Regions from separate parts of the Homo sapiens genome. Here regions 2, 3, 4, 5, 6 and 7 are each linked to region 1. The links are contacts of gene promoters, found by promoter capture Hi-C in blood cells and fetal thymus (Javierre and others, 2016). All regions are on one chromosome and are shown on one strand. Each heading gives the region's core, a stretch centred on a gene start or on the middle of the fragment in contact. The rest is flanking DNA. Distances are from core to core; before and after follow the strand shown. Region 1 holds the start of SLC43A3 (solute carrier family 43 member 3). Region 2 has its middle 9.2 kb from the start of MPEG1. Region 3 holds the start of FAM111A (FAM111 trypsin like peptidase A). Region 4 has its middle 16 kb from the start of CNTF. Region 5 overlaps ZFP91 (ZFP91 zinc finger protein, atypical E3 ubiquitin ligase). Region 6 overlaps ZFP91 (ZFP91 zinc finger protein, atypical E3 ubiquitin ligase). Region 7 overlaps LPXN (leupaxin).

Region 1 (3,851 bases), core at 784-3,283:
GTTGGGGCGGGGAGGGGGGGCGGTGAGGAGGATGAGGATGAAGCCTGGGCAACCTGGATGTGAGGCTGTGCAGGGGATGAGGACAAGGATCCTTGGGGTGAAGGAAGAGAAGAGCAATTTTAGGTTTTGCTAATTTTGTAACCCTGGCTCCAAGCCAGCCCTTACAGGAAGTCACCCTGGCCTCCGGCTCAATTCAGCACGTGATAGGGAAGCCACATTTATGCAGAGCAGGGAACGAGGTAAGGAAATGGAAGTGGGGCTGTGGTGAAGTGGGCAAGTCTAGAGAGAGTCCCGCTGCCTGGGGCTGTTCCTAACAGCTGCTGGGAGCGAGCTGCAGGTGTGGTGCCTGGCAGGGTGGCCGGGCTGTCTGACTCTGGATTTCACTCCAAGCTAGGCTGCTGCCTGAAGGATTCCTCTTACCCACCTTTGCCTGGGCTGGCCTTTGGGACTTACATGGCTATGAGGCGTGCCACGGTGGTCTTGAACCGGTCAAAGATGTAGCCAGTGGGGAATGTCATGAAGTTGTTCATGAAGGACCCCAGGGTGAAGATGAGTGAGAACCTCTCATCCTGGGCTTTGCAGTCTGGAGTAGAAAAAAGGTCTCCCATGCATCCCAGCCTTCCTGCCAAATGAGCACACAGGCTGGGCTCCCCTCCACCTCAGACAGCTTGTCGGTCGCAAACTTGTCCCTTAAGCTGAGTTGAAATGTGGCTGCCCCTAATTACCCCTCAGGAGCTGGTGCCTCCCTCCCAGGCACTTCCCAGATCAAGTGGGGTGAGAGCTGCTGACCCTTCCTCTCATCATAGAAAGAGGGGTGGGCAGGGGGCAGAGTCCTTCCTGCTCCTTGCCACCACGTGGGAGCCAGACTTAACTTCCTTAGAAAAGTCATCCCTGCCCTTACCAGCCTGCCCTGTGGCATTGCCAATCGGCCCAGCATCTGGTCCACACAGATCCTTAAAGTAATCTTCATTCTTGAAGACAAACACTAGTGAAGGCCAGCCAAAGAGGACGCCAGCAAAGCCCAGGCATTCCAGCAGCCCAGTCAGCAGTGTGGCCACGTGCAGGGGCAGGCCCTGGCCCGCCATGAGCAGAAGTGGAGTGGATCTTCAAATCCCACTTTGTCCTCCTGGACGGATCACAGGCGCCGTAAGCCTGGCGTTTGAGCACTTGGAAAATTCCTCTGGCAAGCCAAGCCCTTCCTTTCCCGTAGCTCTCTGGTTGTTTCAGGCCTGGGCAAAAACCATCAGCGGGTGATTCTCTGGATCCTGTAGAATAAAGATAGAGGCTGCTGGAAGAGGAGGCCTGCGGGAAAGGGAAAGGTAGACTAGAGTTATTTGTGAGGTGCATTAAGAGGCAGGATGATCATGGCCGCTGGCAGCAAATGTGGGGAATAAATACTCCAATACATCATCTTAGGCACTGCATTTGAGTAACCACGTGGCAAGTAGAGAGGCAGGTCTTGATGGCCACCTGGAGTCACAGGTGAGATAAACGACTTACCCAATAGCTCCCCGGGAGCAGGTGGAGAAGCGGAGCTCCTGCGCTCGAATTCTGAATACCGTCCCCTAAAATAATGACAGCAACTCAACCAGGTGCAGAGGCAGGGAGATTTCATACAGAAGACACAAACTCCCGCTGCCAAGTTGGTGTTATCTTCAGTTTACTGACAATGAAACAAAAGCTCCCATGGATTTCAGGAACTTGCCCAAGGTCACAGGGCTAGTTTAGTCACGACGCAGGCCATTCTACTGCCAGAAATACCCCCAACTCCCATGACCCTCGCCTAGGACTCGCAAACCTGGTCCCCGCCGCCCTTCCTCGCATCAACTTCTACCAGGAAAGCCTCCGGGGGCCGCTCCCCGCCAGCCTCCGCACCCCGCTCCAGCCTGCGGCCTGCCCTCCCCGCAGAGGAGCCCGAGGGGCCAGGCCGCGCTCGGCGCCCCATGGCGCCCGAAAGGGGACCCTTCGCCCTACCCGCCTGCTCCGCGCCGGGGCTCTCCGCGCCCTTTCCGCACGGGCCAGGTTCGCATTCGCGCCTCTCGCAGCCCCTCCCAGTCCCCTGCTCGCCTCCGCCCCCTCCTGCCCGCCCGGAAGGGGCTGGGGCAGACCTCCCACTCTCCATCACTTCCTTCTTCTTTTCCCTTGCTCACAGCCTCCCGCGCCCTTTTTACCTCTCCCTCTTGAAACTTCTCCCTCTAGAACCCCCTAGAACCCCAGCGGTGTCTTTCCCTCCCTCCTCGCTGCCTTTCAGCCTCCCAGCCCCCTTGCCTCTGCCTCCCCTAACCAAGTTAGTTGAATGCTGTTACTCGCTCAGGCCCACCTAGGGAAAATGTCACACCCAGCACCCAGAGGACACACAGACAGCACATGAGGGCATAGGGACACACACACTCTATTTGTGCATTTTGCCTTGACCGCTGGGTTGGCAGGGAACATATTTTTCCTATTTGCTCACCAGCTTAACCGTCTCTCCCAGTTTCACACTCCCAGAGCTGCCAAAAAAATCCCAACCACAGAATCAGGAAGCCAAGAACCAGGACTGAGGGCTTTTCAGAAACCATCCCCTGGAGGACTGCCCCATATTTTCACTCCCAAAAACCCCTTAGATGACTCCCTGCCTCACCCCCGCCCCCCAGGTTCTGAAAGAGCCTTCCCGCCAGACTGCATTGATTAACCATTCATTGCCCCATTTTTTATTAATCAAAGACATATATAATTGCTCATCGGAGCTTGTGATCAGCGTGAGGCCTTACTAAGCAGCTGCCTTACTATCCTTCCAGCCCAGAGCACGTGAGCTGACGTCTTCTTTGGCCTGTGTGGCCGTTTCCTTGCCAAAAGCTCAGTTTGGGGAGAGCTTCTTGCGTATTAGATGCAGTCTGCAGACTCCCAACCCCAGCTACCTGGATCCCCTGAGGGCCCAGGAACTCCAGCTATTCCAAGCCCACTCCTCTTTTTTTTAAGAGGAAGAAATAGAGGTTACGATAGGGGACAGCCAGAACTGAGGATTTTCCAGCTCACCACCAAAGCACAAAAGATAAAAGTCTGCAACCACCCTAGTGACTTGACTGAATGGAGGAAGGGTGGCTGGGGTCCTGTACCCCAAGCTACTCACTAGTTATACAACCTGAGGCAAGCTCTTTGGCTGCCCCACCTGTAAGACGAGGACAATAGTACCTTAATTATAGGAATTGTCATAAAAGAAGTATAAGATGGGTGTATGAGGTCCCTGCATGGCGCAGGTGCTATAGGCAGATTGTAGGGTAGTAGATTTTCTAGTCTGCAGTTATGTAGACAGAGCCAGAGAAGCAGCTCTGGGGAGGAATTTCAAAGGAACTTGCCCACGGTCATTCTACAAAGCTGCAGTACCTTCCCAACTCTGAAACGTATGCTCTCATCACCCCGTCTTAACAAACATTTGGACATTAGAGAAAACAAGTCTTTTCTTAAAATAACATTATTTATGGGAGAAAATCCACAAAAATATAGCATCCCAGGACAAACAGGGCTTAAGATGCAAGATTTTCTATTTTACTGCAAGACACAAAGACTCTGAAATTAATGCATGCCCTATCTTCTGCTCTGGCATACATTTTAGTCTCCTGGGGGGATCAGTAAGTGTGGAAGTAGCAAGGGAGAAACAGAAAAAAGTCAAAGTAAAGAGACAGATTTTAGAATGTTAATCTGCAGGAGCCTGCCAGAAAGATCTAGCTCATGGGCTATCTGTACATCCAGGACTGAAGCACGGGACACGGGGCAGGTCGTCCAGGGTTCTGTCCACCTTATCTTGTTACCTCTCTTGACTCTTAGAGCCTCCACTCCACATCTCCCATCAATGTCTGCAGAAGACGTGG
Region 2 (3,851 bases), core at 915-3,414, 1.8 Mb after region 1:
AATAGGGCAATTAATGTGCTTGAAGAAGCACCAGTTAACTTTCAAGAAGAAAATATTTCAATACTTCCACAATCCCTCAAAGTGTGGATTTTCTTCTGAAAAAGTCCTACATGACCCAGAAGAGTCCTGCCCTACATGATAACTGTGAGGCAGGAGACACCCAATTTCCTGGGAGAGCTATGAGGCTTTCCTCAATTTCAACCTAACATAAGTGGGAAATATTTACAAACTTAGGGACAATTTAATATGTAAGAAAATTTTGCAGTGAGCATTAGGAAGGGTTGTAGAGGCAACCTCAATTGAAGAGCTATCTTTTGAGGGGCAGGTAAAAAGAGGGGTGGGGGCAGTGACTCAAACCTGAAGTGCTCTCTGTAGCACCTGGGCAGTGCCTGCTGTTTATCTAGGTTGGGCTACTTCCTAAATTCTCCAAGCTAATTTCTGCTTGTCCTCATATTTCAGTTTAAACATGATTTCTTCCTAGAAGCCACTGTTGAATCCATAGGCCTATGTTGTAAGATAACAATTTATGTGCCTCCCTAGATTCCATCAGCAGCACCAGCTTCCCAAGCCTTGGCTACTCCCTCTGTGTAGATTCCCAGGTTGTCCTCCATCCCCTCACCTCCAAAACCACTTGCCTCTCTCCCAGGAAGAGGCCTGGGCTCTGGCATGGTCTCCCCCTCCCCAGTGGTTCCTATGCAAGTCCAGCAAGAGTAGGGTTGCTAGATTTAACAAATACAAATTCAGGGCACCCAGTTAAATTTGAATTTCACATAAACAGTGAATATGTTTTTTAGTATAAATATGTCTCATGCAATACTTGGGGAATAAAAAAATTATTCATTGTTTATCGAAAATTCAATTTTAACTGAGCATCCTGTACTTTATCTGAAGACCCTAAACATGAAGGACCTTAAAGAGATTCTGGTTCCTCTCATCATATCTGGACTCCACTGAAGCACCAAGTCATTGTGTGTGGCATCTGGCTTCTCCAGTGTCTGGCCAGAGGTGCTGCACAGCCCAGAAGTTAAGAGGACTTAATTCCACAGGGCAGTGAACATTGATGAATTAGAGCTGAGATACAGGAGAGATCTAGCAGACAATTTCCTCTCCTTTCTTCCTCCAACGGACTGTCCTGAGCCCTGGTGGTTACGTATGGTCTGGTTAAAGATATTAACCACCTGTGTTTTTCACTGAGTTGCGATCAGCTCAGTAATACACCCCTCTAGATTTGCTTCCTCTCCTTCTCTACCTTATCTCCCTTGCTCCCTCACATTTGCTGCCCTTGGATTGCACCTCCCAATAAACCGTTATTAAATGATAGGGCATTAAATAATACCAGAATCTTCCTCTTACATGCTCCAATAGCACCCCTTGCGTTATTACTCTGTATTTCAATTGACTTTTTGTTTGACTCTCTCCTCCAGTGAATGTAAGCTCTTTAATGACAGAGGACTGTGTCATTGGTTTATCATTCTCTTATTGGAATGTAGCAATGTTTGGTACATAGTTTGCTTATATTGAATGAATAAAGACGTGAATAAAACAGACAAATCTGACAGCATTTCTCAAACATTTCCCTGGAAAAGCAGGCCATGACTCATTGAGATGGAATACTCAAGCTTAAGTAACGTTATTATGAAATTTTTATTTGAATTTACTACAATATTTTTGAACAGTTACCCTGGGTCTAGTTTGTGCTATTTGTGTTTCTTACTATAAAAGAATTGGTTTTCTGGTCTGAAGTTATATCCTTGGCAAACGTGGGATGGTGTAAACTTGATGTCTTACATAATGAATCAATTACAAAGCCTAAAGACAGTGCTCCTCTATGCCAAAAGCTTTGGCCTTATTTACATCTGATCTGGTCTTCAAGGCTCTGGCCCTGCAAGGCTGAACCCATAGCCAGTTCCGTACCCACCTTGCTTCCCATCTTTGCCTGATATCTGCAGCTAATGAGTCTGTCCTAAAGGTACCTGGTCTTACCCCTCTCCCTGTTCCTAACCCTCCTACATAGATATAGAAGCTGGGTGGGGCAAAGGTTGGGAAGGAAGAAGAAACTCTCACAGAACCTGACTTGCCCCAATTGTAATAACACTTTCATTATGCCAACAGCAGGAGAAGGACTAAGTAGGGGAAAACTAGGAAAGAGAACCAGGTCAGCATAATGCAAATACAAGACAGGAGGCATTTATTTAAAATTTCTAGTTATTAGAGAGCCAAATAGGAGCTTTGCTAATTAGAACTAGGGTCCTCACTCCAGCTTTTCCTAGATCCTTGATAGGTCTTTCTCTCTTTTCTACTGGTCCTCTCTTCAAGTTAGATTTTTAATTTTTACCTTGAGAAATTAGGGCCTCATGGGACAGAAAAAGTAGCACAGGGCTAGAAACCTGGTAACTTTGATTCTATTCCTCATTCTCCCACTAACCTAAGGGTGACTTTAGACAAGTCACTTCCCCTCTCTGAGTCTCTGTTTCCCCATCTGTAAAATAAAAAAGCTTGTTGAGATTCTCTCCAGCATCTGAATGACACACAGTCTGTGATTCTGCAATCCAGTGATAACAAACTTCTTCAAAATTATGACCATGATGTTTTACTTGAAAAAAAAAAAGAATATCTTGTTGAATCCAGGTCATGGTGTGGAAATTTTTCCGTGTTTTGTTTCTGCTGATACTTCCCCTTTGTGACTTGCTTCCTTGTGTGGTTTGTAACTTATGAGTCTTGAGCTGCATTTCCACTGGGGTTGTTTGCTGTGGGAGGCTGGTTTGCTCCGGTTTATGGAACTGTCCCTCCAAGATAGTTTTAGCTTTGCCTCTGCTGAGGCCTACTCTATCAGTATATGAGGACTTAGATTCAATATACTGAATAAACTTATACTGAATATGCTGAGTATATGAGGCCTTATGCTGAACCAGTGTTTATGGTAATTTCTTGGTTTGGGAACAATGTGAACAAAAACGTCACACCTATGTGGTCATAAGCCTTCTTGACTCCCAAGACAGTTCCATCACCCCCTTGAACATTGTACACAGGACCAGCAGCCTGGATCCCCACCCACAGCCCTTAAAGCCCCAAGACTCTGCCATTAAGTCTACGTAAGGCCCAACAAGCTCCTTAGCTGCAGGGCTTCAACTCCCACTTACTGCTCTGATTTTGAGTTCTCTCTTTTTGGCCTTCAGGTATTTCCCTTTCTTGGTTTTGAGCTTGAATCTTTGTGTTTGAAGAAATGTGTCTATACCTGAGTATATGCAGGGCAGGGTTTCCATGCATCAGCTCACCCAGCCAAGTTCTCTTTTGTTATAATTATTTTGTAATTGTTAACTTTTTCTTAGATGTAACAGGTTGCCATGCATGTATTGTGGTTTCAGGGCTGTGGGAAACAAACTTTCCTGCTGTCACACCCCTGCCCTGAATAAAATAATACTTTCACAGAAGTCTAAAACCCTTTTTTTCTGAAAGTAACAACTTTCTTTCCATAGGGAGAGCTCAGGCTGCAAATGTAATTAATCTGCCTTCCCTCTCCCTGAACCGCTAGAATAAAGATGAAGAACTGCTATTTCACCAAGTGATGACAACACAACTTTTCCTGAGAGTCGGGAGAGGGCAAAAGAGCAGCTAGTGATTGCATCAGTGAAGTGGGGAGAGAAAAAGACAGAGAGAATTGAGGTCTGAGGGTGGAGAAAGGTCTGGAGACTAACTTCACTGGCAGTGGGATGTTAACAAGAGCCAGATCTCTGCAATGTTCTTCTCCTTTACTTTCATGGTGGGTGAGATAATATGAAGGAATTCTTCATAGAGAGGAAAGATTATGGTCAGGACATGAGGATTCAGGAGCAGTCGGTGTGAATCCTAGC
Region 3 (3,851 bases), core at 916-3,415, 1.7 Mb after region 1:
TTCCGCAATAAGCCAACACATAACTTATCATGCCATAAATGTTTTTAAAAGAAATATGATTAAAATTATACAAAACGACATAAAAATTTCAGAAAGAATATTGATAAATATCTTGGTACATAGTAGATTTAGTTGCACAGATATTAGGTGGTACAAGTTTTATATCTTCTATAATAATAACTTTTTATTATCTCCTTGTGCACTAATATTTCAATATGTCAAAGTCATTTGAATAACCTTTCTAGTAAATCTCAACTTCGTAGATTGAAAACTTTTTTAAAAGCTTTATTTAAGTTTAGTGGTACATGTGCAGGTCTGCTATATAGATAAACTCATGTCATGGGGGTTTGATGTACAGATTATTTCACCACCAAGGTATTAAGCCTAGTACCCATTAGTTGTTTTTCCCGATCCTCTCCCTTCTTCCATCCACCACCCTCCGATAGGCCCCAGCGTCTGTTGTTCCCCTCTGCGTGTCCATGTGTTCTCATCATTTAGCTCCCACGTATAAGTGATAATATGCAGTATTTGATTTCTGTTCCTGCATTAGTTTGCCAAGAATAATGGCCTCTAGCTCCATCCATGTCCCTGTACAGGACATGATCTCATTATTTTTTATGGCTGTGTAGTATTCAATGGTATACTGAGTTTTCTTTATCCAGCCTACCACTGATAGGCATTTAGGTTGATTCTTTGCTATTGTGAACAGCGCTGCAAGGAACATACGTGTTCGTGTGTCTTTATGAAAGAATGATTTATATTCCTTTGGGTACATACCCAGTCATGGGATTGCTGGGTTGAATGGTAGTTCTGTTTTTAAGTCTTTGAGGAATTGCCACACTGTTTTCCACAATGGTTGAACTAATTTACACTCCCACCTAGTATATAATCCTTCCTTTTGGAAACAAATTTTATCAGTATATTCAATTCTGAACACCCATGTTTTAGAAAATGTTAAGCCTATTGTCCTTTAATCACTATTTGCTTACACATTAAAATGTAAAACAGGCAAAAGAGAAAGAAGGAAGAAAGGAGGGAGGGAGGGAAGGAGAAAAGTGAGAAAGAAAGAAAGATAAAAGAAAAAAGAAAGAAGAAAGAAAGAAAGAGAAGAAATAAAGAGAAAAAAGAAAGGAAGAAAGGAAGGAAGGAATGAAGAAGAAAAGAAAAAAGAGAAAGAAAGAAGGAAAGAAAAAGAAAAAAAGAAAGAGAAAGAAAGAAAGAAAGAGAAAGAAAGAAAGAGAGAGAGAGAGAGAAAGAGAGAGAAAAGAAAATTTTCTCCAGATTAGAATTATTGGCTGCTATTGTTTGGATGCTGGGTACTAGCTGTGATTACCCTTTGTGAATGTAGGAATGCACAGATTCCAAAAGTGAGTCTCATAGAAAAAGTCAGCATTCAAATATGTTTTAAGGTTACTCTATCCAAACCCCAAAGAACCCACAGAAGATGAAGCAGTAATTTTAGCTTCTCTTGGTGTATTGTACATGCATTTAAGGCCAGTTCCTTCCTTCAAATTCCCATGTGTTTTGTAGTTACCAACACACCTTTCAACCCTATCTGTTTATATACATCATATAGTCCTCTGTCAATTGCATAAAAGTTGTCCCCTTTGTGACTGTAATCGCCTTTTCCAATACACATCTACTCAGAATGCAGGTCCTTAAACAGCAGGCTGCCTTGAAAACCCTCTCCAATCTTCTTCGATCATCAGCTTTGAGATGCATATTCCTAGAGCCCATATCATCTTCTTCATCACTATCATAAACGTCTCCACATATTGATGAACGTTTGGAGAATCGATTTATGACAAGGGAGTTTACTCTTCCTGCATCCGCGGCTTCTTCGTGATTTTGTCCTAGTCACCGGGCCTATCCCACCTGCTGGGGATGCCGCCCCCTCGGAAGTGCCTGAAATCTCCCCACTTACCCAACTAGCCTCAGCGCCTCCTGTGTGCTGCAGCAGATGGCGCGCTGCAGACCCCAGCCTGGTGCCTCCGCGACTCCTCCCCAACCATGATTTACAGGCGGGGACAGCCACATTCCTGCGCCCCAACTTCCACCTCCGCTTCCTGCGCGCGCGAGACTCAAGCTGCCACAGTGGCTCTGCCGCCAGCGTCCCAGCTCCTCCCACACCCGAGTTTTTATTTCCTGCTCCCTCTCCAGCCCGGCCCAGGCCAGCCTACCGGCGACTAGGATGCTTTCGCTTTCGCTCTCGCTTTCCAATACTCGGGACTGGGGAAACCGGGAGAATAGAAGCAGGCAAGGACCGCCGTGGGCACGGGGTCAGTGAGACAGGGTCCTGCTCGCGGCGTCAAGGAGGAGCGCTGTGGGTGGGTAGGGTAGGCGCGCCCCCTCGGCCTTGCCTTTCCAACCACTCTTTTTTGCACGCCAACAGGTGTCCCCAGCGCAGCCAATCGGCTTCCGAAGTAGGTGAGTTGCTGCCTGAAGAGAAAAGACAAACTCCAGTATCTTTCATTCCATTGGCCAGACGCGCCATTCCCCAAGTGAGTTCTGTTCTCCAACCAAAGTGCTGGATTCCAAGGGACTGGAAGGGAAAGTCCCTAAAAATCACGAGTTCAGGCGTCTGAGACTTGGTGGGAACGGACCTTCCTCTTAGGTGAGTTACTCTTTGGTTCTGGGGCTGACCTGGAGTTTTGCCAGGATTCATTGGCCGCAGCAGGATGCTGGTGGGGACAGGGTAAATAAAATCTGCACTCCTGCGGGCTTTTATTGTTGAAAGGGGCACTGACGCTCTCCCTGGAAACTTAAAAAGAACAGCCAAGTGAACGGATGTGTCTTTCTTTTGCAGTGCCCAAGCCTGTTCTAATTTTTAAAAACTGATGTCTATTAAGACCCAATGTTAACTTTATGAAAATGGTTCCTAAGGAGATTCACATCTCTGTGTCCGAATTCTGTGTGCAGCAAACATCATCTCAAGTGCGTTTTCCCAACTACGCTTCTTTCCAGGATAAAATACTCTAAGTGACAAATGTTGAGTACATTATCAGGTATGTTCACTATTGTGAGAACTGAAGCCATCTACACTCACATAGCTTGCCAACTACATTAACCTGACTTCTTATTCCATTATTTTCATCAACATACATTTACTATTTCAAGAAACTTTTGCCAGGGACCGGAAAGTTGCAAATATCTTTATTGCTTAATCCAGTATCTTCTTCAAAGATCCAACCACTCTTCAATGGAAAACATCAAAGAACAGTTTACATTCTAAGACTTTGAACCTTTACCTCAAAATCCTAGCCTTGTTTTATCTACCAATCCTAAACTTTTACCCGTAGCTGACTCAATTCTAACCAATTCCCCTCATTAAATATTAGACTTACAATGGGACTTCAAAATCTCAATACATATAGCCCAAACTTGCTCTTCCCTCTCTGAGACACCACTTAAATTCTGTCAAGTTATTGTTCTCCATTACCTAAGTGAGCAAGAAACTTAGCTTTGTCTTATCAACAGGTTGCTTTGATATTACTGGGAGCCAACATTTGACATTCTTGGAGGCTCCAGCAAGACCTAATCAACCTCCCAACCCTCAACTCAGAATCAGTGTGTGCCCTGAAGTCCCTTCAACCTTCTTGAGGCTCTCCCTGATCTCAAAGGTGGAGAAAGTAGATCTTGCATCAGGTTGAACTCCAGTTTCTTTTTGCTCAGTTTTTCAAGCGCTGAGTTTATTTTGTCCCTAGGCATAAAGAAATCTTTCTAGGAACCCCTTTGGTTATGGGACCAGATTTTTAAAAGCTTTTTAGGCTTGGTGAAAAATCTGCCTTATCACTAGCAACACTACGACTTGTCTCTGTTCTTGTTTTTTGTTGTACTCGTGTAAAAGAAAA
Region 4 (3,851 bases), core at 490-2,989, 1.2 Mb after region 1:
CATATACAAATTTGAAAAATGAGTTATTCAAGAGGGAATATGAGGACAAAAAAGAAAAGTTGGAACTAAGATTGAGTTTAGCAACAGAAATGTTGTGGAAATGACCAGAATTTGGTTCTAAGCTTTCTAGAAGTCAAAATAAGGCAGAAGACCTCTTCATTTTACATAACTTACAGTATCCAATAGGGGGCAACAACCTAATTGTCCAAGAGGAGCTTGCTCCGGAGAAGACAATGTGTAACGTCCAAGGAACAACTCTGGGCCAGTAGCCCAGCAGTCACCATGCTATCATCAGCTGGGGTGGAATTACTGCAGCCCCTCCACCCGGTGACCCAGGGTTCTAAAAGGAACTTGGAGACCATATGGTTACACATGCTACCACCTCCCCCTTTGCCTTCTCTGTTGTTTACTATTTTTTGGTCAACTTGCCTAGAATATTTTGAGGCAGTGAAAACTAAGTTTTATTCATCTTTGTATTTATGATAGCACTTACAATGGACAAAAATGGGGCTCAAAACGGGTTTATGAATGAAATAATAATACACTTAAGAATCCAAGAGGGGCAGGTCATTTAAAAGAATCCAATAGCTGGTTCCTATCACCTGAGGCTTCATAAGACCTCTTTCTGGTTTTCTCTCATTCATTCAGCTAACTTTTAGAGCACATACCTCTAAAATTTACAGCACCTATCTCAGAGTTCTGTCTGATGCTCTGAGGCTGAGCCCTGGCAGTAACTACAATAAGGACAACACCAACCCTCCCCACACTAAAAGAGCTCTTAGTCAAATTGGAAAAAGAACTCATGCCAAGTGACATGCTCATATAAACATACTGCTAAGGTTGGGTGGTCGTCAAGAGGAGTAAGAGATGCTTTCTTCCTGGGAGATTGAAGGAGTATGTGTGTGTGAGAAGGAGGGGCAGGTAAAGACATATTCTCAAGGGAGCTGACATCTGAACCCAGTCTTGATTAATGAGTTAGACTTCATCAGGCAAAGGCACAGCCAGGAATCACCATGACACATCAGGGGATCAGTGTGTGGAACATATTGGGAGTGTGTCATGGGAGGGGGAATCTGAAGGCTAGCTAGAGATCAGGATGACAAGGGAGGTCAGGGCCCAATGACAAACAGTCATATCAAGGTGGATGTCATACGTTCCAGTTTATGAGCATTGTCCCATATAATTAAAACACCTTTTTTTTTTTTTGGTTTCAACCGGAGTTCAGATTTGGATGATAAATTATATGACTACTCTACTTATAAGATAATCCATTCTCTCTTCTCTCCCACCTTTCTTTTTAAACCTCAGGCCAAAACCTATTCTGCCTTGGCCCCCACCTCACCTTTCTCAGTCAGGGAGCTCAGTTTCCGGAGCCTGGGGATATTTTCAAAGAAATGAACTGAGGCCATCATAATGGAGCTTCCAGTTGCTGTTGAAAGGATTCTCCCAGGCCAGCAGAATTGAACAAATCTATGTGTGTCTGGCTGAGGCCAGAAGGAGTCTGGTGCTCCTGCTCCCAGCCCTGGATCAAACTCTGTTTCTTTCTGGGAAGTCCTTCTTTTCTTTCTCACATCTAATCTTCAAGATGCAGCAGAAATTCCATCCTCTTCCAGAAGCCTTATCAGACATCTCTCAGAATTTGTATCCCTCCTTCATTTTCCCATAGAAAATGTTTGAAGCTGTATCACATTTCACAATGAGTAATTTATATATTAGGTGTATCTGCCCCACTCAACCATGAGCCCTGGTTGGACATCTTTATGTTCTTCATGGTACATAGAACTCTGCCACTCACGTCCTCACATCACCATCAGAATGATCATCATGGTCAATTCCACATCATGACAGCTCAAGGTGACAGGCCAGGTACTATGGGGAAGGGTTTCCTTGCAGTATCTCATTTAATCATCACAGTAATTTTATGACATCAATTTTAATATTATCCCAACTTTAGAGAAGAGATTAATTCCCAGAGTGGTGGGACAATTTGCCCAGGGTCACTGAGCCAGTAAGCAGCAGTGCTGGGACTTGAGCCTCGGTCTGTGTGATCTGACTCTGGGATCTCAATCCTAAAGCAGCAGCAAATCGTCATAGATATGAACTTTCACATTTAGAAAGGCCAGAGAGTGTTCCAAAGTGCTTTGCTTCCATTAGCTCATTTAATCCTCTCAAGTAACCTAGGAATTTGACACACTAACTCCATTTTAAAGAGGACCAAGCTGAGGCACAAAAAACTTGCCAGTGACGAGTATTTGCCTCCACGTGGGTGAGGACATGCTTGCCATACCTGAGCACAAGCATCTCTGCCAGGTACTTGGCCTCCTGGGTCTGGGTGGTTCTCCAGGTGGTTGCTGAGGGTCCGCACATGCTGCGAGAAGCAGGGCTGAATATCAGGGGTTTCTGGGACCTTCAGAGAGTAGATGCTGTGGTGGACCTGCACTCTGGCTGTGACCTACAACCTGATGGAACCCCGGGTTGTACGCCTTGACGTTCTGGCACTTGGCTGAGAACTTACCATTAAGGCTGGGGAGGAAGCGGAGCTTAGCACTGATGGAGCCGCCCAGGCTTTGGTGTAGTTGAGCCAGTGGTCAACAAGCTCTGCCTGGGTTTCTATGACCCTATCCCTCCTGGCACCATGTGCACATGGTCTGGAAAGAGGTGGTTACTTGCTGCAATGCCAGCCCGAGCTCTGCATTACTTAGGTTTTTCTAGCCGCTGTCCAGCAGTTCCCCCTGCACGGACATGTTCAGTGCCTGCTTGCAGCCTTGAAACCCCAGCATCCTCGCAGGCCTCATCATTGGAACCCTCTAGGGGCTCCTCCTTTTTCTGAGACTAGCTACTGCTCTAAATGAGCCTCTGAAATATGTGCTTTATAATCTCATTTACCCTCTCACCATTCTACTTTTGCACATTTGCAAACTAAGACCCACAGAAGTCAGGTAAAATGCCTAAGGTCACAGTACACAACAGAGCTAGCATCTGAATCCAGGTTCTTTGATGCCAAAGCACAATTTCCATTCACTGATCTATGTGTGGTGTTTCTCCTTTCTATTCAGTATCAGTGTCTTGATTTTTTATCCCTCTTAGGGCATTTGCAATTAAAGAAGGCTCACGGAAAGGAGCATGGGATTGCTCCTGGTTCCAGCTGGTTCTAACAGTGTGCTTGGAGCAGAAGTCTTTTCTCTCCACCCTGTATGGGGAGAGGCAGCACTGGCCAGAGGAATGGGTGCTTCTCAAGACCTGAATTGAAATCTGGGTTTTGTCATTTCATCAGCTGAGCCCTCCCACTCTCACGGCTTTCTTCCCTGAGTCCCACTTCCTTCATCTGTTACAGAATGAGAACAATAATAACCTCTTCAAGCTTGAGCTGTTGGATATAAAATGCCCAGCAGAGTGCCTGGCACAAAATAAGGTGTTCTTTTAGGGAAGTGGGTTAAATGGCTTGTTCAAGGTCTGGGTTTGCATCCAGGTTTGTCTGAATCCAAAGCCTAGTGCTCTTTCAATGTAATGCTTCTTTCCAATCTCTATGTTTGCATTCTTTTATTAAAAAGTGTGATTGATTTATCATAAGGGAACCTGGGACTGGATTATTTGCTGGAGAGATGGCTGTCTTCTGGGAAACAAATCTTTTTTCCCTCTTGTTTCTTCCCAGGACAGGGATAAGTAATCATGCTGCTCAGTCCCCTAGCCTCCTGACCTGGGAACAAGTGCTTCATGGCATTATAAATTCAAAGGAGTCTGGGAATTCAGCATGTTTGGTTATATCTCTTTCCCAGAACCTGGCACCAGTCTGTGGGCATTTCATAGCTGTAGATACAAGTGAAAATAATCATGCTTTGGCTGAATGGTGG
Region 5 (3,851 bases), core at 395-2,894, 1.2 Mb after region 1:
TGTGTTGTGATTTATCTGTTAGTAGGTCTTTTAATATAGCAGATCACCAGACAGTATTACAAAGTCAGTTGTTTCTTAACTTTTAATGCCATTGAGTTGTCATCACCCTGTCTTTATCTAGGATTTATGTCTTTTTAGTTTCAATTATTATTCTTTGTGATAAAACAGCTAGATTTCAGTCCAATTAGGTCATTAGGATGAAAATGCTAGATGACTTTATCAGTGTTTGGCTACCTCTTAAAAAATTACCAAATAAAATCCCCTCAGACATGTTCGCTACAACCAGAATGTCTCATTTCTATTTACTTATTTTTAGTAGTGAAGAGGAAGAGGAGGAGGAAGAAGAGATGTTAATCAGTGAAGAGGAGATACCATTCAAAGATGATCCAAGAGATGAGACCTACAAACCCCACTTAGAAAGGCATGTCTCAGATTTTACTGCAGACATGTTAATGAAATATAAGTAGGAAAGCACTGTTGCATGCTTTTATTTTATCTGTTGCCAAGCTAATGGGTATAGAATTAATTTTAAATGAGTAATTAATTATGCACTTCTTTTGTAAGTCTAACACCTTAATATACCCTGATAATAATCCTCTTTCCCATTTGTAGAACTTTATTTTGATTATATACAAGTTTTTATGAGTCTGCATGTTTTATTTCAACAAGGTATCATGAATTGCCTGAATACTTAGAATTTTTTAACTAATTGTCTCGTTTCTCTTTACAATTATAGTGAAATTTGATTTACAGGCATCTTTAGTCTGGGGAGGGTTCATTCCATGAGCAACATATACATATATTTGGATCATTACTATGCATGTGAGGATGATTGGTAGGAAATCACATTTCATGAACTGAGGAAGGTAGTTTTATAACAAATCAGTGATAACTCTAAGCTTTAATTTGTTGTCATAGTCTTCCTTGAAAAGATCTTTTGTCTAGTATTGAAATGCATTTGTGTTTTCAGGGAAACCCCAAAGCCACGGAGAAAATCAGGGAAGGTAAAAGAAGAGAAGGAGAAGAAGGAAATTAAAGTGGAAGTAGAGGTGGAGGTGAAAGAAGAGGAGAATGAAATTAGAGAGGATGAGGAACCTCCAAGGAAGTGAGTAGGCAATTATTAAAAATGAAAATCTAACAGATTTTGAACGACTAGTGGAAAAAAGAGTGGGAGTGTGAGGAAGGATGTTGACGTATACATGCTTCAAAATATGTATTTTTTAACTTAAAAAAATTTGGCCTCAAGCAGCTGACAATTTCACTGGAGAGACTCTTAGTAAAAAAATGTTTAGGTTTTTCAGTTCTATTGCAAGGAGAAGGTATTTTTTAATCTTAGTGTTTTTAGATGATACATGGTAGCAACTCTAAAAGTAATACATTGAGATTCTTCTAAGTCTTTCATAGTATTGCATAGTTTATGGAAGGTATATATTTAATCTGTCTTACAGACTGATTTGAAAGTGAAATTACTTCAGGGTAAAATTACTTGCTTGATTTGCCAGATATATCTTTGACTTTATGTATTCTTGGTTATCCTTTGCCACTTGTTCTTTGGCCGTGTGTGTGTGTGTGTGTCTTCAGCCAGCCTTCACTGTGTAGTTTTGATTCAGAATATGTCTACTGTTACCCTGTCTTCAATTACAGGAGAGGAAGAAGACGAAAAGATGACAAAAGTCCACGTTTACCCAAAAGGAGGTGAGGAATTTTTACCCCTACTGTTTTACACCTTATTCCAGTACCAGGCACTTTACTCACAAATTTAGACTTCATGATAATCCTGCAGGAATGGCTATTTAAAAATTTCACAAAAGCAACTTCACTAATGTCCTAGATGCACAGGTGTTATGATCTTATTTTCATTGTAAGAGCTTGAAATTTCTAACAATCTTAATACTTTACCTTTGGGGGGTCATTAGTTTATTTGTGTTACTTTTTAATTCTGTCAAATATTTGCTAATTCTTGGTTACTTCTAATACAAATTCTGTGTAATCTGTATAGTAGTAAAGAGATTTTAATTCTTCCTACTATAAAATAGCTATTCCCAATAGCACAGTTTAAGTCAGAGGCCACTGTGCAGAGTACCACTTTTTTTTTTTTGCTAACTTTTCTTCTGCATTTTGATAATAGAAAAAAGCCTCCAATCCAGTATGTCCGTTGTGAGATGGAAGGATGTGGAACTGTCCTTGCCCATCCTCGCTATTTGCAGGTCAGTGAAGTTGTTATATAAGAGCCTTTCAGGTTGTGTTCCATTACTTGTTCTTGCACCACGAGACTTTAATTTGTTGGCTTGTGTAGGCTTTATCATTGACATGTAATGTCAAGAAAAGTCTTTCTTTAAACATAAAATGACTTTAACCCATTTATGCCTAGTGTTCCATTATTAGAATGCTAAGCTTGGGCAAGTTATTTATATCCTACTGTTCAAGGTCATCACCAAGGTCTGATTTTTCACAAAAATACATTTGCAACCTCCAGCATAAATGGGTTAATCATGATTAGTCCATTTGTGCTGCTATAATAGAGTACCTGAGACTGGGTAATTTACAAAGAACATATATTTATTTATTAGCTTGTGGTTCTGGAGACTGGAAAGTCCAAAAGCATGGTGCCCACATCTCACAAGAGCCTTTTAACTGTGTCAGCCCATGGTGGAAGGGCAAGAATGGGTTGAACTTGCTTTTGTAACAAATCTACTCCAATGATAATATCAACCCATTTATATAAGGGTAGAGCCTTTAAGACCTAAGCACCTCCCATTAGGTCCCGCCTTCCAACACTATCACATTGGGGATTAAGTTTCCAACACATGAACTGTGGTGAACACATCCAAATTCATAGCACCTCCTGTTTAAAAAGAGGTGACTAAGAATCTGAACCCACATAGAGAACTTTCGTTGGAATCTTTCAATATTACAGTAATTCCCAATGTGGTGTAAATACAGAGTAACATTTTATTTTAAAGTGATTTAGAAAAAAAGTAAAATTAGAACTCAAACCTGTGATTTCTTGGGTACTGTGTAGAATGAATAAAAGACTTTTAGTTGAGGTTTTGTTTTTATTTTTCTTGAGTAGATTATTATTATTATTTTTGATGAGTAAACGTACCACTTATATTTAGGTCTGGCAGGAAACGTGAAAGTGAAATACTGCTTAGGAAATACCTGTTTGATCTTCAGCAACAAATATAACATGACACGAAGGCCTTCTTCTGGATCGTGGTTCAGTTATAACAATAGCCGCTCCTCCTCTGCTGTGTGCCATTTGCTGCTCTAAAGCACAGTACAATACATAATCTCTTATCCCCATAACAACACTTTGAGATGGTTATTGTTACCTCCATTTTACAAATGAGAACTGGAGCTTGAAATATTTGTCTCCTAAGATTACAAAGGCTAGTGAATGACAGACCCAGATTGGAAACCAGGTCTGTGTATTTCCACCTATGTTCTTAGCCACTTTATTATACTCCCTCACTATCCATGTGTGAAATCTAAGTATTTGGTTTTCCTTCAGTACTTTTGACTTAGCAAAGACAAGTACTTTCAGGAAGCCTTAATTTTTTTTTTTTCGCCCCTTTCACTTTCTCTGTTTTAGCACCACATTAAATACCAGCATTTGCTGAAGAAGAAATATGTATGTCCCCATCCCTCCTGTGGACGACTCTTCAGGCTTCAGAAGCAACTTCTGCGACATGCCAAACATCATACAGGTACTTTTAAAATGTGTTTATCAAGTAGGTAATTGCACTGTGCTTTAGTTTTGCATGTTGGTAATGATAACGTTTTTCTAACATAAGTCTTAAAAGATTCTATAGTCAAGTGCGGGGAAAAGGTGTGAAAATAAAATGTAG
Region 6 (3,851 bases), core at 695-3,194, 1.2 Mb after region 1:
GTAGTCAGGAAAAAAGAAGTCAGTCATCAGATAAATTCATAACAGATCTCAGCATTTACTTAGATTATTTGGAGCTTAACTGTTAAGTATTTACCTTACCTAGTTTATCATAATCAGCATACTATCTGTAATTATTACTAAAGTATTAGTTTATTTTGATTATTTTTCCTCCTGTCTGGATGACATCCTCAGTTTTTTTCTTATATTGATACAGTCTAATTTATAGCTTATGCCTCTGTGCTCCATGTTTTAAAATTAGAATTAATTTGTTATTAACAGTTTTCATAGATTTCAACAGTTTTATTTTTCATGTATTGAAATATCTTTGATTATCGTATCCTCTCAAATCAGTCTCTTGTATCCCATTCATCTTGGCCTCTTGTCAACTTGCAACCTCAATATAACATTGACTGTTTTTACTTCCTTTACAGATGTGTCTGTTTTATAGTATACTTTTTTGTTGGTTTTTCTTTCTTTCTAGTATATTTAAAGAATATTTTTATTATTTCTAAAAATACAGAAGACACATTTTTATGCTTTTTTTCCCATTCCAGTGAGAAAAATCTAACTTGTAATTCTTACCATTTGAGTTTGTGTACAAAAGGAAGAATCGAGAAGATACTGAGAACATTGTCTTCACAATTCTTTCTTGAAAGATTTTGAATCTCCTTGCTAATGACCTAGTTTTCCCAGTCAAAATAAAATCTTTTAGGTTTTGAATAGAAAAAGAGTTCTGGAAGGAAAATCTGTAGGTGAGAAAGGGCGTGTATAAGCCCAGTCTTAACACTCAGATAGGCTTTTAAGGTTTTTTTTGTTTGTTTTTGAGACAGGGTCTCATTTTATTGCCCAGGCTGGAGTGCAGTGGTGTGATCATGGCCCACTGCAGTGTTGATCTCCTGGGCTCAAGCCATCCTCCTGCCTCAGCTTCCCAAGTAGCTGGGACTACAGAAGTGTGCCGCCATTTCCAGCTAATTGTTTTTGATTTTTTTGTAGAGACAGGGTCTCACTGTGTTGCCTAGCCTGGTCTGGCTAGGCAGTCCTCTTGCCTCGGCCTCCCAAAGTGCTGGAATTTATAGGCATAAGCCACTACACCCAGCCTGTTAGTTTTAACTGAAATATTCCCCTTTACCAATTAAATGATACTGTTCTAAATTTAAATGTAAGTTAAAAACAACAACAACAACAAAAGCCTCTTTCCCTGGCTTCTCTTAATACTACTGAGATTGGCTAATATTTCAAAGCAAACTTTAATTATTTATGGAAAACAAAGTGCAGCTAGTGATAGAAATACACAGAGTAGTTCAGTTAGGTTTCAGAAACTCAAGTTTCTGACAATATAATGTTCAAGCCTCAAAGGCTAAATACAGTAGATAGACATTTTTGTTTGTCCTTCCTTCCTAATCTTTTATCTTAAGGTAGCAGTAACTGTATTATTTCTCTTAGTATGAGAATAATTTACTCAGACATCTTGTTCCATGTTGGGTATGGCCCAGATCCTTTAATCCGTATTGCTAGTTCAGACATCCAAACCTCCTTTGGTTCTTTTCCATTATTAATTTCCTACAAATAAAGATATATGTCACTTATAATATGTGAATTGTGATGTAGGCTTAAAAAGCCTTGATCATCAGCTTATTTCAGTTATGGGATTACCTATCAGGTAAATGAGTCTTAACTTTATAATAATTTGCCTATTACAGCTCAACTTATTGCCATCTTCGACACAGTTATAAGTTTATTCTGCTATATATATTATTTTACATTGAGATCCCTTTTCCTGCCAAGACCACTTGAGAGTTAAAGCAGAATGCCCTGATAGAAGAAAACTGAAGCAGAGGAAACTTAAAATCCTTAGTGGGGAAAGCCATATTCAGCCAGTACAAATCCAAAACCTTTAAGAGAGACTTGCTTGTATCTTCATTTTGAAATGAGCCTTAGTGGATAAGAATCTGTGACAAAAAGTAATATTGCCCCTTGACTGTTAAGTTCAAGAAAGAAGAAATTCCTCTGAATTAAAACCAGCCTGAATAATCTAATGCTATCCGGGCAAAGGCTTCTTTAGCTTCATAACAAACCATCTAAAAATTTAGTGGCTTAAAACACAGCAATTTATTATTTACTGGTTGGGCCATTCCCCCCTCCTCATTGGTCATTCAGTTCAGACTTGTTTTATATTATGGTGGTTGTGGCGCAGTGTTCCAAAATCCTGAAGGCAGTAACTGCAAGGTGTCTTGAAACCACCCCCACAGTATAATCAATCAGTTGTATTTCTGTATATCAGCAACAAAAAATAGAAAATCGAAGTCATAAAATCAAAATAAAATTTATATTAGTATTTACAACCCTATAAGCAAGATATACTGCTCCATTTACTTAGGTTTTTAATTTTACTCAGCAATGTTTTGTACTTTTCAGTGTATAGGTCTTTCAAATTTTTTATCCCATATATCCCTGAGTATTTCATATTTTTTGATGCTGTTAGCTTAGCTTAATTGGGATTCCCACTGTGTTTAAGAGTGGGATTGATTCTTTAAGAAAGAAGAGGTGCCTAGATGCTTTGTGGATATCCAGTCATGGCTACTGTACATTTATATTCTATTATTTAACCGTTACCTAACTGAAGGGCATTTGATATTTCTGGGTTTTTTTTTTTTCCTGAGATTACAGGTGATTTTTAGAGAAATCCTATTAAAATGTACCATACGTATACAGAAATGCACATATTATAAGACATATACATGTACTCTTGTTTCTCCTCCCCCTTCTTTATTTTATAAGTGGGTGGACCCAGGGTGAGCCCAATCATGTAACCATTTACACAACTGAAGAAATAAAACATAATTGTTTTGGAAACTCCCTTATGCTCCTTCAAGTCAACCGCCCCCAAGTGTAACCACTATTTTGACTTTAGCAGAAATTAGATTTGCCAATTTTTGAATTTTACATAAATGGGATAATACAGTAGGCACTCTTTTGTGTCTCGCTTATTTTGCTCATCATTTGTGACAAATGCTGTGTTTGTCATAGATCGTTTATTTTAGTTGTTGTATAGTGTCCCATTGTGGGAATATAACCACAGTTTAACTGTTTTACTGTTGATGGATGTTTGGGCAGTTTTCAGTTATTAGTCTTTATGACTAGTACTGTGATGTATATTTTTGAAATATAGTGTTATTGGGATGTAATTTATACATCATAAAATTCACCCATTTCAAATGTACAATTTAGGGATCTTGGTACATTGTATGAATTGCACACCTATCACAATACAGTTTTAGAACTTTTTCTTCACCCTAATAATGTCCTTCATGCCTGTTTATAGTTAATCCGTATTCTCACCCCCAACCCTAGGCAACCATTAATCTACTTTCTGTCTGTATAGATTTGTTTTTTTTCTGGACATTTTGTGTAAATGGACTCAGACATACAATTTGTGTTTGTATATAGGAAGCATTATGCAATGTATGTAGGAAGCATTATGCAGGCAAGACAAATTTGTATCTAGAGTCTATTCCAGTAACAACAAAGCACTGCCACTTCCATGATGGAAGTGGTCCAATGTAGCGAACCTTGCACCAGGTGAGCTGGATGATCACCCCAGGGAATGGTGCCATATCAGGGACTCGGTGTTGGTCTCTGCTGCTGGCATATTAGGCAATTAGCAGTGGCTGTAGCCAGGTCAGCCTGGGTTTGGTTTTCAGCAATCTCAGTTTTGCAGCTGTAGTAGGTAAGTATTGTTTTCAGGAAAGACACAGAAACTTTGAGGTAATTTTTGTGATGCTCGAGCTGGGAATTTGAACCCCTGAGCACATCTTTTTTTTTTTTTTTTTTTTTTGGAGACTGAATTTCAC
Region 7 (3,851 bases), core at 943-3,442, 1.1 Mb after region 1:
AAAAATTGCAAGCTATAACTAAGGAGAGAATAAGTAAGTTAATCTTGTTATTTTTTCAGACTGCCAATTCTGCTTTAGCCAGGAGAAATGATTTAGTAAGTGTATCTGTTTTAATATGGAACTTCTCATAAAAGGAAATCCCTCTACCCACTATACAAATTTTGAGCAAATATGGAAAGAAAAAGTAAATACTCATCAGTTGGCCATGGAGACCCACTGTCTTAGTTTAACCCTCATCCTAGCTCTGACATTGCTAGAATCTTGCTGAAGTTTCTTCAGGTGTGTTTTATCTTTCAGGAAACTGAAGCATAACATCTGGAATAGCGTGGACAAAACATCTGTGGTAACTCTGGGAGTATTTACACTTCTTTAGGTGGTAATGGACATAGCAGGGCCCACTAGCCTAGACAACCCTTCCAGAAGCCAGGCACCTTGAGAAGTTGTCAAGTCAGCTTCACAGAATTCTACCTATGCTCAAAGACTATGGAAAGAGGAGGATGATATACGAGTTCTAATAATAAACACTTGCAAAGCAAATTATCACCCAAACAAAGATTGATAACAATTATCTACTAACTTTAATTTTTAAAAGCATTTAATAGAAAAAAAAATACCTGTAGACATTGAGCTCCTGGATATTGGTAGTATACACGAGCTGCGCCTAAGATATATAAGTGACAAGAGAAGAGCAAAGAATAAATTTTTGTTATCAGAATGTTGAGGCTTAATGATACCCACAGTTAATAGATGTTTGTAGCTTTTAAAGGGGACTGACAAGTGGCATATCTATGAGCTCTTCTTTCACAAGCCAGAGGAATTACCAGCCATCCCACAAAGAAAAGCCAAATTCTAAACAGAGTAGTTGGCATGTGAACAAACACTAGCAGCCCCTCCTTGCCTAAAAACCACCCAAATAGAGAAGTTGATCCTCCTTAGATAAGAACCATAAATCAAATAAAATGGGTCAGAGCTAAGCCCCTTTAACTAAACAGGATGGTGCCTAGGAGGAGACTATAATGTTATTAAACTTGACATATGAAAAGAAATAACATGTGAATCTAAAAGATGGTTGGCTGGCAATTCATTTATTAATTGAACAAATATGTATTGAGGGCCTGTCATGTGCCAGGGCTGAGGATGTAGCAGTCAAAAAGCAAAAAAATCAAATAAAAACTGTAAGCCCTGAAGCTTACATTCTGGTGCTGTGAAACAAATAATAAAGAAATTGGTATGTAAAAGTAATATTCTGCATAGAGGATGGGAAGTGGGGAGAGACAGCAATTATAAATATACTGATCAGGGAAGGACTCACTGAGAAGAGAACGCTTGAGCAAGGACTTATATAGGAGGTGGGGAAAGAAAGCAAATATCTGGGGTCATATGATTCAGGTGGAAAGGCCAGCAGGAAAACCACCTGGAGCATCTGTGGAACCACGAGAAGGAGAGTGTGGCCTGAGCAGAGTGAACCAAGGACACAGGGACAGCAAGTAAAGGGGCCAGATCATACAGATGAGGTGGCCACATCACCAAACGTTCAGAATGGGGTATTTTTTAGAAAGAAAATGGGTTCCAAAAATAAGTCATATTGTATCATTTTTAAAATATGTGTTTATTGGCCAGGCATGGTGGCTCATGCCCGTAATCCCAGTACTTTGGGCAGCCGAGGCAGACGGGTCACGAGCTTGTATCATTTTTAAAATATGTGTTTATTGGACGGGCGTGGTGGCTCACGCCCGTAATCCCAGTACTTTGGGTGGCTGAGGCAGGCGGATCACGAGGTCAGGAGATCGAGATCATCACGGCTAACATGGTGAAACCCCATCTCTACTAAAACTATAAAAATTTAGCTGGGAGTGGTGTTGCGTGCCTGTAATCCCAGCTACTCAGGAGGCTGAGGCTTGGAGAATTGCTTGAACCCGGGAGGCAGAGATTGCAGTGAGCTGAGATCATGCCACTGCACTCCAGCCTGGGTGACAGAGCGAGACTCGGTCTCAAAAAAAAAAAAAATGTGTTTATTGACCTGAATTTGGTCTTATTATATTGGTGGACCTATAAGATAATTCTATCCAAAATTTATTTTCAAAATAAAAATTTCCTGAAATATCTTAAAGTGATAGTGATACAAAGTTATGAACATTCAAGCAACTTTAAAAAAATATTGGCCAGGCACAGTGGCTAACGCCTATCATCCCAGCACTTTGGGAGGCTGAGGCACGTGCATCATTTGAGGTCAGGAGAATTTGAGACCAGCCTGGTGTCATGTGACCAGACATGGTGAAACCCTGTCTCTACTAAAAATACAAAAAAATTTGCCAGGTATGGTGGTGGGTGCCTGTAGTCCCAGCTACTCGGGAGGCTGAGACAGGAGAATTGCTTGAACCCAGGAGGCGGAGGTTGCAGCGAGCCAAGATCATGCCACTGAACTCCAGCCTGGGCAACAGAGTGACACTCTGTCTCAACAACAACAAAAAATTGATTATCTGAACATTTTTAATGGTACAGACAATTATTCTTTATATGTATTCACATACCTTAATTGGTTATTTAGATATTATTGTCTCTAGCATTGGGATGTGGACATTTTTCAGGAACATGTGTTTTTTTTCGTTTTTTATTTAAACAGTTATTTTTTTATAAAACTGCAATCTTTTTCAAAACTTCATTTTATGGTTAATATATTTGAAATTATGGACAACTTTAATTGATGCTTCACTATATGTTTTTAACTGAGAACACATTTCCTCTCTAGATACTGATGAACCTGTAAGTTCTGCTAAATGAAGAATCTTCTCATTTTTTAGATTAAAATATGTAAATATTTCAGGCCAATATCGTCATAGGTGCTGTCTTTCTACCTTCATTCAAAGCACTTTTGCTCAATAATTTCTTACAAGATAAAACTTTCAAGTTGTCTATATCTGTGATTGTTTCAACATTTCACCAAATCTAGATACTGCAAAATCATAGACTTTCACAATTTTTCTCCATTTTGGTAGAGAATAAAAATTTATCCAAATAAAATTAGAAGTCAAAATACATCAAAGTCAAGATTTTTCTGAAGCACAATTGTCAAAATAGATAATTAAACCATATCTGCTTTCATCTTTTGATTTGTTCAACTCCTTCTTCGCTTTTGTAGGGAGAAATTTGAGCTTCTTCCTTTGCAAGCCTTATTTTACATAATTGTAACTTGCTAAAAGCTTCAAAAGCTGAATTTTCATGCTACATTCATTCAGTAATCGATTAAAAATTTCCAACTGGTCTTGAACATAATGCAATCTAAATTTGGGTTGCTTTACAAAGTGGTTTTTCAAAGGCTCAGGCATTCCCAAAATCCAATTGATGACATGCAACACAGACAGGAATATACATATAGTCATTCTGAAATGTTTCCTTGCATGGTAGTGTTCAATATCAGCTTCTGTCAGAAAAGTTTTGTAGATCAGTTACTTATAAAATCTGTGTGTGTGTGTGTGTGTGTGTATATATATATTTATAATTTATACATTTTGACAATTTTAGTTTCTGTTTTGACTGACAGAATACCGCAGCTTGTTTGAATGCAGTCACAAATTTTGTGCACATTACAACCAATTCCAAGTACATTTCTGCTTCATAGCTTGTTAACTTGGTAAGAACATTTTTAACACAATGCTGTGCTCTATTAACATTTGTATTCATATTCTTACAACAAAAACAACAGTTTACCTTCAATGTTGAGCTTTTCAACTAAATTTACAGTGGCATTAACAATGTCAGATGTTTCACTTTTTGACTAGGAAATAAATTTTCACATATTTTATTTTGATTGTTTGAATTAGATAAAAAACAAAATTGAAACATTTCAGAAT

Evidence for each region. The method cuts DNA at HindIII sites, captures the fragments that hold promoters and counts their contacts. A CHiCAGO score of 5 or more calls a contact.
Region 2: a fragment that was not itself captured here is called in contact with the fragment with the promoter of SLC43A3 in region 1 in 1 of 17 cell types (M0 macrophages); the score reaches 5.4 in M0 macrophages.
Region 3: the fragment with the promoter of FAM111A here is called in contact with the fragment with the promoter of SLC43A3 in region 1 in 2 of 17 cell types (non-activated CD4 T cells and naive CD8 T cells); the score reaches 9.2 in non-activated CD4 T cells.
Region 4: a fragment that was not itself captured here is called in contact with the fragment with the promoter of SLC43A3 in region 1 in 2 of 17 cell types (naive CD8 T cells and M0 macrophages); the score reaches 5.7 in naive CD8 T cells.
Region 5: a fragment that was not itself captured here is called in contact with the fragment with the promoter of SLC43A3 in region 1 in 1 of 17 cell types (neutrophils); the score reaches 6.0 in neutrophils.
Region 6: a contact is called between a fragment that was not itself captured here and the fragment with the promoter of SLC43A3 in region 1, in 3 of 17 cell types (erythroblasts, monocytes and activated CD4 T cells). The highest score is 10.0, in erythroblasts.
Region 7: a contact is called between a fragment that was not itself captured here and the fragment with the promoter of SLC43A3 in region 1, in 6 of 17 cell types (monocytes, total CD4 T cells, activated CD4 T cells and 3 more). The highest score is 8.5, in monocytes.

Annotation. Positions count from the first base shown.
Region 1 is chr11:57,425,088-57,428,938 of GRCh38, forward strand. SLC43A3 (solute carrier family 43 member 3) reads right to left here and starts at 2,034. Exons shown (of 14, transcript NM_199329.3): 1 at 1,975-2,034; 2 at 1,501-1,565; 3 at 902-1,265; 4 at 454-583. The coding sequence starts at 1,085. RefSeq lists enhancers at 1-758, 451-1,650, 759-1,551 and a silencer at 1,794-2,153. The HindIII fragment of the contact is 9,438 bases long and covers 1-3,851 here.
Region 2 is chr11:59,220,198-59,224,048 of GRCh38, forward strand. No RefSeq gene overlaps it. Among named protein-coding and RNA genes, the nearest start is that of MPEG1, 9.2 kb to the left of the region's middle. The HindIII fragment of the contact is 657 bases long and covers 1,837-2,493 here.
Region 3 is chr11:59,140,691-59,144,541 of GRCh38, forward strand. FAM111A (FAM111 trypsin like peptidase A) reads left to right here and starts at 2,166. Exons shown (of 6, transcript NM_001312909.2): 1 at 2,166-2,256; 2 at 2,393-2,614; 3 at 2,807-3,005. It overlaps FAM111A-DT (FAM111A divergent transcript), which reads right to left and starts at 2,118. Exons shown (of 4, transcript NR_110184.1): 1 at 1,925-2,118. It also overlaps the pseudogene LOC100422399. RefSeq lists enhancers at 1,934-2,383, 3,752-3,851. The HindIII fragment of the contact is 3,476 bases long and covers 282-3,757 here.
Region 4 is chr11:58,636,585-58,640,435 of GRCh38, forward strand. No RefSeq gene overlaps it. Among named protein-coding and RNA genes, the nearest start is that of CNTF, 16 kb to the left of the region's middle. The HindIII fragment of the contact is 3,239 bases long and covers 121-3,359 here.
Region 5 is chr11:58,610,634-58,614,484 of GRCh38, forward strand. ZFP91 (ZFP91 zinc finger protein, atypical E3 ubiquitin ligase) reads left to right here. Exons shown (of 11, transcript NM_053023.5): 5 at 317-421; 6 at 971-1,105; 7 at 1,645-1,695; 8 at 2,129-2,207; 9 at 3,596-3,710. ZFP91-CNTF (ZFP91-CNTF readthrough (NMD candidate)) reads left to right here. Exons shown (of 13, transcript NR_024091.1): 5 at 317-421; 6 at 971-1,105; 7 at 1,645-1,695; 8 at 2,129-2,207; 9 at 3,596-3,710. Among named protein-coding and RNA genes, the nearest start is that of CNTF, 10 kb to the right of the region's middle. The HindIII fragment of the contact is 1,495 bases long and covers 898-2,392 here.
Region 6 is chr11:58,588,267-58,592,117 of GRCh38, forward strand. The region is part of intron 2 of ZFP91 (ZFP91 zinc finger protein, atypical E3 ubiquitin ligase); the gene reads left to right. The region is part of intron 2 of ZFP91-CNTF (ZFP91-CNTF readthrough (NMD candidate)); the gene reads left to right. Among named protein-coding and RNA genes, the nearest start is that of ZFP91-CNTF, 11 kb to the left of the region's middle. The HindIII fragment of the contact is 5,379 bases long and covers 1-3,851 here.
Region 7 is chr11:58,563,541-58,567,391 of GRCh38, forward strand. It overlaps LPXN (leupaxin), which reads right to left. Exons shown (of 9, transcript NM_004811.3): 3 at 615-661. Among named protein-coding and RNA genes, the nearest start is that of LPXN, 10 kb to the right of the region's middle. The HindIII fragment of the contact is 2,012 bases long and covers 1,187-3,198 here.